Linked DNA regions of Homo sapiens: region 1 is linked to region 2. Evidence: promoter capture Hi-C in 16 types of primary human blood cells and fetal thymus (Javierre and others, 2016). All regions are on one chromosome and are shown on one strand. Each heading gives the region's core, a stretch centred on a gene start or on the middle of the fragment in contact. The rest is flanking DNA. Distances are from core to core; before and after follow the strand shown. Region 1 has its middle 7.9 kb from the start of UBE2J1. Region 2 holds the start of SRSF12 (serine and arginine rich splicing factor 12).

What was found. The method cuts DNA at HindIII sites, captures the fragments that hold promoters and counts their contacts. A CHiCAGO score of 5 or more calls a contact.
Region 1: a fragment that was not itself captured here is called in contact with the fragment with the promoter of SRSF12 in region 2 in 1 of 17 cell types (neutrophils); the score reaches 5.2 in neutrophils.

The regions. Positions count from the first base shown.
Region 1 is chr6:89,357,939-89,363,360 of GRCh38, reverse strand. No RefSeq gene overlaps it. Among named protein-coding and RNA genes, the nearest start is that of UBE2J1, 7.9 kb to the right of the region's middle. The HindIII fragment of the contact is 6,763 bases long and covers 700-5,422 here.
Region 2 is chr6:89,116,106-89,121,281 of GRCh38, reverse strand. It overlaps SRSF12 (serine and arginine rich splicing factor 12), which reads left to right and starts at 3,211. Exons shown (of 5, transcript NM_080743.5): 1 at 3,211-3,459. The coding sequence starts at 3,395. It also overlaps a transcript of PM20D2 not described here. RefSeq lists a silencer at 3,358-3,627. The HindIII fragment of the contact is 10,924 bases long and covers 1,751-5,176 here.

The sequences.
Region 1 (5,422 bases), core at 2,832-5,331, 240 kb before region 2:
TTGGCTTCCTTCTTGCTAAATCACCTATGATGGTGTGACTTTCCTCCCTGTGCTTCTGCCAGACACTTGGGCCTCATTCTTGACTCTTCCCTCCCCTCCTGTTCACCTGCAGTCAGTCACTCGGTTCTTTCAGCTCAGCCTTACAAAGGTCTATTGAATCTGTTCTCTCCATCTCCTCTGCCATTATCTTGGTTTAGACCACCATCTCCTTTTTACTTGGATTTCAGTATTTTTTTTTTTTTTTTGAGAGACAGTCTCATTATGTTGCCCATGCTGGAGTGCAGTGGCATGATCCCAGCATACCATAACCTCAAACTCCTAGGCCCAAGTGATTCTCCTGCTTCAGCCTCCCAAGTAGCTAGGACTACAGGTGTGCACCACCACACCTGGCTAATTTTTGTTTGTTTTTTTGTAGAGATGGAATGTCGCTATGTTGCCCAGGCTGGTCTCAAACTCCTGGGCTCAAGTGATCCTCCCATCTTGGGCTCCCAAAGTGCTTGGATTATAGACATGAGCAACTGCATCGGACCTTTCAGTAGCTATTTAACCAGTGTCTCTCTACCCCATTCATCCATCCATCCATCCATCCATCCATCCATCCATCCATCCATCCATCCATCCATCCTTCATACAGACCCCGAGTGGCCTCTCTCAACCACCACAATTCTGACCTTCCTTGCTTCCTGACCTTCTTAAGCTTCCTTGCTTAACACCCTCCAGGTCTGAAGCTCTCCATGACTCCTAGATATCAGCCCAAACTCCTTAGCAGAGTTCACAAGACCCTGCTCCCTGGCCTTGCTGCATCTCCGGACTTGGTTTATTCTCCCTCAATGTGTTGAGGACAAGCATGACCAAAAGAGTGTGGGGTAAATAAAAGGAGCCATGAGTTTTGATTCTTTTGTCAATAATGATTGCTAAATCTCCTATGATGGTGTGACTTTCTGAGGGAAATTAACAATGTTCTTTTATCCAACAGATATTTATAGGGTTCCAATTATATTCCAGACTCTGTGCTAGAGAAATGGCTAAAAGGCAGATACTGGAGATGAAAGGATTTTAATATCTAAAAATAATGAAAAATAAACTAATTTTTGATAGGTCCTTATAGATGTCAGTTTTTAGAACTGCAGTTGTGTAGGACTTTACCACTGTGCGCAGCAGAGACCATGGATAATAACTAGCATCCAAGAAATTGAGTTGTTCAACCAATAGATCAATAGCTATATTTACTATTAATTTAATGTAAGACTAAATAGAAGAAGTAGGCTGTAAATTCGAAATGTTTATTGACATGTAGTGCTTTTCCTTGTAATTAAGAGGTGAATTATCTTAAAAGTAGGAAGTTTTAAATGTTATTTTAATATTCATACTTTTCCAGCTTAATACATGTATGACATCAATATCACTTCCAGAATTGGATTTAATAAAAAGTTTATTTGGCCGGGCGCGGTGGCTCACATCTGTAATCCCAGCACTTTGGGAGGCTGAGGTGGGCGGACCATGAGGTCAGGAGTTCAAGACCATCCTGGCCAACATAGTGAAACCCTGTCTCTACTAAAAATACACAAAATTAGCCCAGTGTGGTGGTGTGCGCCTGTAATCCCAGCTACTCAGGAGGGTGAGGCGGGAGAATCGTGTGAGCCCAGGAGGCAGAGGTTGCAGTGAGCCAATATCGCACCATTGCACTCCAGCCCAGGCGACAGTGCGAGACTCCATCTCAACAAACAAACAAACAAAAGTTTATTTTACTTTTCTACCCTTTTCAATCTGTTCGTACCAGGGAACTATTTATAAGAGTGTCGCCTAAGAATGTTTATATTCTCTTAACATGTCATCAGGAACAGTAGAATATGTGAGAAAAATCTGATGGTAAATGCAAAACTCTTTCACATCATTCAGAATTTTGAAAGGCTGGGTGATTTTAAAATGTGTCATACTTGTCCTAGAGGTCCTCAAAAGACCTACTTTTATCATAAATTACAGTTAAGTTCAGGCAGTGATCTTATTTCAGTTGTATCATCAGTATTTTGCAATAGTCCTGGGAAAGTGAAAATATAAGCTCTAGTAGTCTCGTTCATGATTTTAAGATACCAATTTGAAGTATCATATTATTCCAAGAAACAACTTAATTCCAGGATTTAAAAAAAAATCCAAAACAATATTGTTAGAACAGTGCAACAAATATTTACAAGTCAATAGTCTTTTCTTTGTAGAATATTACATTTATGGTTTCAATAAATGATTTAGCAGTTAAAGCTGAGATGAAGTGTGGTTCTCATATTCAATCTTGAAAAACTAAACCATCTTTAAAAAGTAGAACGTCCATGTGAACTCATGCCTGAAGCCATGTTTGAACGCTAGATAAAATTGCCCTGGGACAGAACTGTAGTTCACCTTTATGAAATCAATTTTAAACTTGTTATTGTGAGCCACAATAAATACAGTTCACATTGCAAACTATCACACACTCATACAAATGTTACTAAAAAAAACTTACCAAGTTATATCCTCTCTACATGCAATGCATTCTGGTATTTTCTCTTTCATTTGCTTTTTTTAAAAAGATCTCACAATCCACTAATGAGTCACAACCTGTGGTTTGTAAAGTAGTGTTAGAATGAACCCATTGGCCACATCAGAAATATCTAAGGATTTTCTTTCCAACCTAAAATCTTTTCCTTCTCTGTTAATTAAGAGATCTTAACAAATGGGAAATTCTGAGTAAGTTCCTGAATTTTTCTTTCATTTGATCATGGCCTTCTAGTGTTTACTAAAGTGGTTTTTCTTTTCACTGCCATCCTTGGGTATTTTTGTATGCTGGGTTGTATTACGGGTGAAGGGTTGATGGGGTTGTAGGCCTGAGAGGATCATTTTTATTACAGACTCTATCCTTGACTATAATATGATAGCGTTACATGGAGTTTAGTGACTCATGAGCTCATGTCTGACTCCTAAGGGGTCCTTTGTTAATTCAGATGACATTGGTCTTATCCGTTATCAAGAATCCATGAGTTTGGCTGGGTGTGGTGGTTCATGCCTGTAATCCTAGCACTTTGGGAGGCCGAGGCGGGTGGATCACAAAGTCAGGAGTTCAAGACCAGCCTGACCAACATGGTGAAACCCCGTCTCTACTAAAAATACAAAAATTAGCCAGGAGTGGTGGCACGCACCTATAATCCCAGCTACTCAGGAGGTTGAGGCAGGAGATTCGCTTGAACCCGGGAAGCAGAGGTTGCAGTGAGCCGAGATCGCGCCACTGGGCGCCAGCCTGGGCAACAGAGCGAGACTCCGTCTCAAAAAAAAAAAAAAAAAAAAAAAGAATCCATGAGTTTGCCCTTTTGTGCTATTTTGAAAGGGAGCTGATCCAGTGACTACACTCAGGAGGGTGGGGGCATTAACTGGTGTCCAGCTGCCTGAGACCTTGACCATCTTGCTTCCTCAATCTTTCCTAATAAGCTCCTGGGGCCAGCAGGGTTATTCTATTCTTCCAAAATTGAGAGTCATGAAACCAATCCCCCTCTCATGAAAGGCCAACTATGATAGAGCAATTTAAACCTCAGTCCCATGCTAACCCTCATCACCACGTGGAGAATTCCATTCCTACAAGCTGCTTTTGTTTGCCTTCTGCTTTCATTATTGCCTAAGTCCCTAAGAGGGCTGCTACTCAGTTTTCTCCCCTCTGGCTTTGCAGAGAGCTAAGCCCCATAGTACTCAACTTTCCTCACCTAGATAGCCAATAACTTGGAACTAATTCTGGCCTTCTCCCAGACTGCTTATAAGGTGGCCTTGGTAATTAGGCTTTTGTTTCTTTTCCCTGGGAAGCAGTGCAGTAAAGGGGGTGACTGCGGGAGACAGTCCTATGTATCTTTCCATCTCCGTAGGAGAGGAAGGAATTCACTTAGCTTTATAAGGTGCAAGAAACGGTGCCACCAATACACATAGTACTGTTTCATTTAATGCTCTAGGCCCATATTTTCCAAAGTTACCTGATTTTATGAATCATCTAGAGTGCTTAAGGATGCAGATTCCCAGCCCCATCCCGGTCTTCTTGAATCAGAATCTCCAGGGAGAAATACAGAAATCTGTATTTTTAAATAAGGACCCTAAACAATTCTTATAATTTGTGAGACACTGTTTTCTCTGTAGTTGTTTAAAGGGATAGGGAGGGGAAATGGTAGGGGATTAGGGTTGCAATCACCTAGGGGAGCTTTCTTGCATCCTCCATACCTACATACACATCAACACCCCAAGTGTTAGCATTTTTTCCAACTTGATTATGCAGCTTTAAGAGTTTATATTATTTAACCTATATTTCAAATGTAGACTTTTGTGAATGTAAATAATTTTAAGTCTATTTAAACCATTTATTGATTCAGTATTTAAATACTCATTTACATCTAATAGCACAAATTATGCAAATGGTACTAATTTAGAAAAATTGGTTTTTCCTCAAACAATTTTATTCAAATACTTCACATGCATCGTTTACAACTGGGTCTCTATCATCACTGAAACAACATTGTGAGTCCTCTAACAGTTCCCTCCTAGTTATCTAAGGTAGAGCATGCCTTACATTGAGTAGAATGCTGTCAGTGGAGATTTTACTACATCTCGAGAACCACTTGTTAAACATCAGGGTTTTTTTCCTACATATTCATAATCACCATAAATAAGTACTTCTTGTATTTCTCTGTTCAATAATTATTTAAAAGCCTACTTAATGATCTCCAATACTTGTTATCCAAAGTCATACCCTCAGGAATAATTAATCAATATGTCTTTGCCTTTTTTCCCCTGATTTTGCTAGGTGACCTTTATAAGACAGAAAATTGCCATTACTTGTGACCCTTTCACGACATATTGTCTTCCTGAAGAGTATTTTGTTCAAAAAGGACAAAGACAAAAACACAAGGTGACTCTCTTTTCTGAGGAATGATATTTTTGGAAAAATTTTGCTTTCCATTCTGCATATATGGTATATATTACTATTTAATAGCATCTGTACCCACCCCCTTTTTTTGCATAGAGACAGGGTCTCACCATGTTAGCCAGGCTGGTCTTGAATTTCTGGCCTCAAGCGATCCTCCCCTCCACCTCCACCTCCCAAAGTTTTAGGATTACAGGTATGAGCCATCGCGCCCAGCCAGCATCTGTACCTAGACCCAACTTGAATTCCCCAAAGAAGTTAAACTGGCTCCAGTATTTTCTCACAAGATGCTAGAAGGCAAATTGTGGCATACCTATACCTTCTGGTTGGTTAGTGCTGAAAAAAGTACAGGACTACTTTTGAGAAGTTGACGATGTGGTTATCATTCAAAGTTTGCCTATAATTGTAACTTGGGTTTTAATGGGAAGCAGTGTAGTACTGATTGTTCTGAAGACAATAATATTGTCGAAATGCCCCATGGCTGCAGAATTACTG
Region 2 (5,176 bases), core at 1,962-4,461:
GAAAAAAGAACATACGTTTTTATGTAATATAAATAATTATGGCTCCACAACTTATTTTATATCAATTCCAGCTACCTTTTAAGTTCAAGTTGCTAAGAGAAACTCCTTACACAGTTGAAGACCCTTTCCTCAGGTATTTCCATCAAAAGGAACAGAAAAAACACCCCCTATCCATACATGCATGCTAAGTATTTTTGGATACTCCTACAAAAGCTTTTTTCAAACTGTAAAGAGCTTTGTGGTTTTTTTCTATATTTATAAAAAGCATTAAAAAAATCTGACAATACTAAAAGATAAGAAGAAAGCAAGTATCAGAGTATAATACCTATACCTGAATAGGTAAAAATAGAATAGAAAAATTCTATTTATACATGAACATACAGATAAATTTATTTATTTATTTACAGACAGGGTCTTGCTCTGTCACTCATGCTGGAATGCAGTGCACTGGCACAAACATAGTTCACTGCAGCCTCCAACTCCTGGGCTCAAGCAATCCTCTTGCCTCAGCCACCTGAGCAGCTAGGACTACAAGCATGTGCCACCATGGTTGGCTAATTTTTTTTTTTTTAATTTTCTGTAGAGATGGGGAGATTCTCTTATGTTGCCCAGCTGGTCACGAACTTCTAGCTTGGAGCAATCTTCCCAACTTGGCCTCCCACAGCACCAGGATACAGGCATGAGTCACCACGCCTGGCCAATATATTTTTAACTAAATAGGTTAATCGTTTACATGTCTCATGAATTGATTTTTCTCCACTTAACAGTATGTCAGGGATGAGTAATTGTGACTACCCACCAGGTCAAGTTTCTTTTCTTTGGTCAAGTTTTTTATTTGCAAAGTCAATGTAGTGGTTTGAATGGCGGCCCCCAAAAATACATGTCCAAGTCCTATCTCCAGGTATGTATCCTTATCTGGAAAAAGAATCTTTGCAGATGTAAGTGAGGATTTCAAGATGAGATCATTCTGAATTAACCAAGTGGGCCCTAAATCCAACGACAAATGTCCTTATAAGAGATAGAACTGGATAGGATAGATGGCTGATATCATTTGGCTCTGTCCCCACCCAAATTTCATCTTGAATTGTTAGCTCCCATAATTCCCACGTATTGTGGGAGGGACCTAGAGGGAGATAACTGAATCATGGGGGCAGTTCCCCATACTGTTCTCCTGGTAGTGAATAAGTCTCACGAGATCTGATGGTTTTATAAGGGGAAACCCCTTTCGCTTGGCTCTCATTCTCTGTCTGCCACCATGTAAGATGTGCCTTTTGCCCTACACCATGATTGTGAGGCCTCCCCAGTCTTGGGTATGTCTTTATCAGCAGTGTGAAAACGGACTAATACAGTGGCTCACACCTGTAATCTCAACTTTGGGAGGCCAAGGCAGGAGGATCACTTGAGCCTAAGAGTTTGAAATCAGCCTAGGCAACATAGACTCCATCTAAAATAAAAAGAGAGAGAGACAGAGAAAGAGAGAGAGAAAGACAGGAGGCCATGTGAAGACAGAAGTGGAGACTGGATCTATGTATCCACAGCCAAAACATGTGTGGGGCCACCAAAGACTGGAAGAAACAGAGGATTCCCCTAGAGTGCCTTCAGATAGATGATGGCCCTGCGGACACCTGGATTTCAGACTTCTGGCCTCTGAACTACAAGAGAATAAATTTCTGTTGTTTCGGGCCACCAAATCTGTGGTGCTTTGTCATGGCAGCCCTAGCCAACTAACACATGGTAAGCATTCTAAGCTTTTGTATTATGAATCCAGCCTGCTCTCCAGCCTCATTTTCCAACTCTTCTCCAGCCTCATGCTCCTGTTTTGCCTCATTTACTATATTGCCTCAAAGCCTTTGCACGTGCTGTTCCACTGCACTAATTACTCTTCTCCATTCTTTACCCATCTCTTCAAGACTTGTTCAGGGAACATAAGTGACCCTCTAGCCTTGCTCACCATCCCACAATGCCTGCTCTCAGCAGCATATAGTTCTTTTCATAGCCCTGTATTATAGTTTGTATCTTTACCAGTGTGATTGTTAGATTCTGCCTCCCTACCAAATTCTAAGCTCTAGGGGAATAGGCACGGTGCCAGTCTAGCCCTGTGCCTGCAGTGCCAGAGCAATCCCTTCTGAATGAAAGAATAGCCACCGTTCCAGTACAGCTGCAGACCCAGGAACCTCCACAGCCTCTGGGAGGGCTGTGAGCTAGAAGGGTGACCACGACATGTATTCTTCAAAGCCTACCACTTCTGCGAGCGAAAAGGGGCACTCTTCACACTTAGGAGTTGCCTGGTTACACTCCCAGCCCTGAATAACAGGCTGTGCCTGCCGGCCACAGGAGCAAGGCGAAGACGAGTCTAACTAGAAGGGGATGGGCTACAACATTTTGGGGGAATAGGGAGAGGGTAATTTAAATTTTGCTTAACTGTCCCTGCATTTAAACTGTTGTCTTCTACATCATGTATTCATTTGTACATTCGTTTGTCCCCCCTCTAGAATGTAAGCTCAGAGGGCGGGGCTTGGCCTGTTTGTTCATTGCTATATCCCACGCTAAGTGCCTGGCGCATAGTAGACGCTCAATAAACATCTGAATGAATGTACTCACAGCTGAGTGTTATGCCCCAAGTGAATAAAGGATGAAGAATCATATAATACTTAAAAATCCAACAGGCCAGGCGCGGTGGCTCACACCTGTAATCCCAGCACTTTGGAAGGCCGAGGCGGGAGAGGCTTGAGCCCAGGAGTTTGAGACCACCTGGGCAACACAGCGAGACCCCGTCTCTATTAAAAAAACAAATCCGAACAAAACCGAGACCTCACAGTTGGAAAGCCGAAGGCTCAAGACCAGAGGGGCAGGAGGCCTACCAACTGCCAAGGTCCTGCGCTCAGGACGATGCGCTGAGGGCCGCGGAGGCTGAGCGGGGGCGCGGTTGAAAGCGGCTCTCACTGACCCCACCTCCGCCCAGCCGCAGCCCCGCCACCACCTCTGGGTCCTCTAACCCCCGGCGTCCCCGCCGCGGCCTCAAGCCCCCTCTTGGCCTCCGCCCTCCTGACATACACTGGCCCTCGCCGCCCCCTCCCCAAATCCCGTCGCACTCCAGGACCCCCCATACCCGGATCCCATAGGGCCTGGGAACGGCCGCGCTCCTGTCTTCGGAATTCCCGCGGCCCCTGGGCCGCGCCGGCGCCGCCCCCGCCCCCGGCCCGTGCGTCCAGGCTGGCGCCGCGCTGCGCCCCCTCTGCGCCGGCCTCTGCGGCTGCGCGCTGGCGGGGCTGAGGCCGAGGGGTGGGGGTCGCGCCGGGGGCCGGCGGAGCTCCTGTGGTGGTAGCAGCGGTAGCGGGAGACGGAGCGAGTCCAGCGGCCGCGGGCAGACCCGGAGGGAACGGAGGAAGCGGTCATGTCTCGCTACACGAGGCCCCCCAACACCTCCCTGTTCATCAGGAACGTCGCGGACGCCACCAGGTGAACGGCCGCGGCTGCAGGTTGGGGGCGCGGAGGAGGGGCGGGGTAACAGCCGCGCCGCGGAGCACGGCCGAGGCCCGGCGGAGGCTCGGGGGAGCTGCGCGGAGCCTCCCCGCGGGCCCAGGCTGCGCCACTTGGGGAGGTGTGAGCCCTCGGACTACTCCGCGGCCCAGGGCGGAACTCGCGCCTCCGCCCTCCCGGCCAGCTTTCAGCCCCGGCGCCGCGCACATCGTGTCCCGGGCCCGCGTCGCTTTCCGCGGTTCAGCACCGCAGCCGGCGGGCCGTGGGACACGGGGCGCCCCTCTCCCGAGCTCAGGTCGCTCCCCGCCGGGAGTCGGGAGGGTTTGCGCTCCAGCGAGTGCCCGCGTTTCAGCTCCTTTGTCGCCGTGCCCCGATAAAATCGCGCGCATCCAACCCTCCTAGATGGAGAGGAATTGGGGCTGGTGAGAACGTTTTGTACCATAATGCGTACTCGGGCCTTACAGTTTCTTTCCCCCAGTTCTGGTCTACTTACAGACGGTGCTGCTTGCATTTTATTCACACAATTTTATTCTGCATACAAAAAATAACTTCAATGAATGAGATCAGTGCGTTTTTCTTTAAAGTTCTGAGTCCAGTATTAACACCCTTTTTAAGGGCGTGAGTATAGGCTCACCTGGTTGATTCTGATGCCCCACCCCTCCGTTGAGAATTTTGTCTACAGAGTGTCTGAACACAGATACTAAGGAATGACTTTTTCATATAGCACTTCCTTCCTTAATGGAGCTGAAGAAATTGGGGGCGGGGGGAGAGGGAACGGTGTTAATAGACATTCTCATTTCACTGGGCTTCATTTACTTCCCCCCAGCCTTTCTACCTATGCAGTACTGTTTTATTGTACATAAGGGAGAGCGGAAACTAAGAGTTTTAATGATTTACCTGGGGCCAGAGAGGTATAGATACATGGAGCTCTTGACTCCATAGTCATCTGAGATGAGTATTATAATTTACCTTTGAGGAGTAAATAAACGTTAAGTATTTTTTATTTTTTAGTTTTTTTTTTTTTTTTAGACAAAGTCTCGCTCTTGTCCCCCAGGCTGGAGTACAATGGCCCGATCTTGGTTGGCTGCAACCTCTGCCTCCCGGGTTCAAGCGATTCTCCTGCCTCAGCATCCAAAGTAGATGGGATTACAGGCGTGTGCCACCACACCCGGCTAATTTTTATATTTTTAGTAGAGATGAGGTTTCATTATGTTGGCCAGGCTGATCTCCAACTCCTGACCTCAAGTGATCCGCCCAGCTCGGCCTCCCAAAGCGCTGAGATTACAGGCATGAGCCACCGTGCCCGGCCAAGTATTTTTTATTTGATCACCGCAAGTACATGTATCACAACTATATGTTGTGGTTAATATATCTTAGTTAACATCTAAAAGGTGCCTTGTTTACATTTCTTCTGTCAGCCTTTTTATCAATATATTACATAGAAAACACGAACATAATTTATGATTTGGGCAGAATTAAAAAACCTTGCAGTTGAACAGACAACTTGAAAATGGAATAAGCATCAAGCCTCTTCAGGGTGTCTGTAGAAAAATCAGAGGTTTCCAATTCTAATGGTTCACAGGGGCCAGCCGGGGTAATATAAACGAGTGAAGCTGCCAGCCTATAAGGCACAGTAGGATGGTGTGGACTATCAAATAGAAATAGAATAGCAAATAGAAAAGGAAATATGCCATCT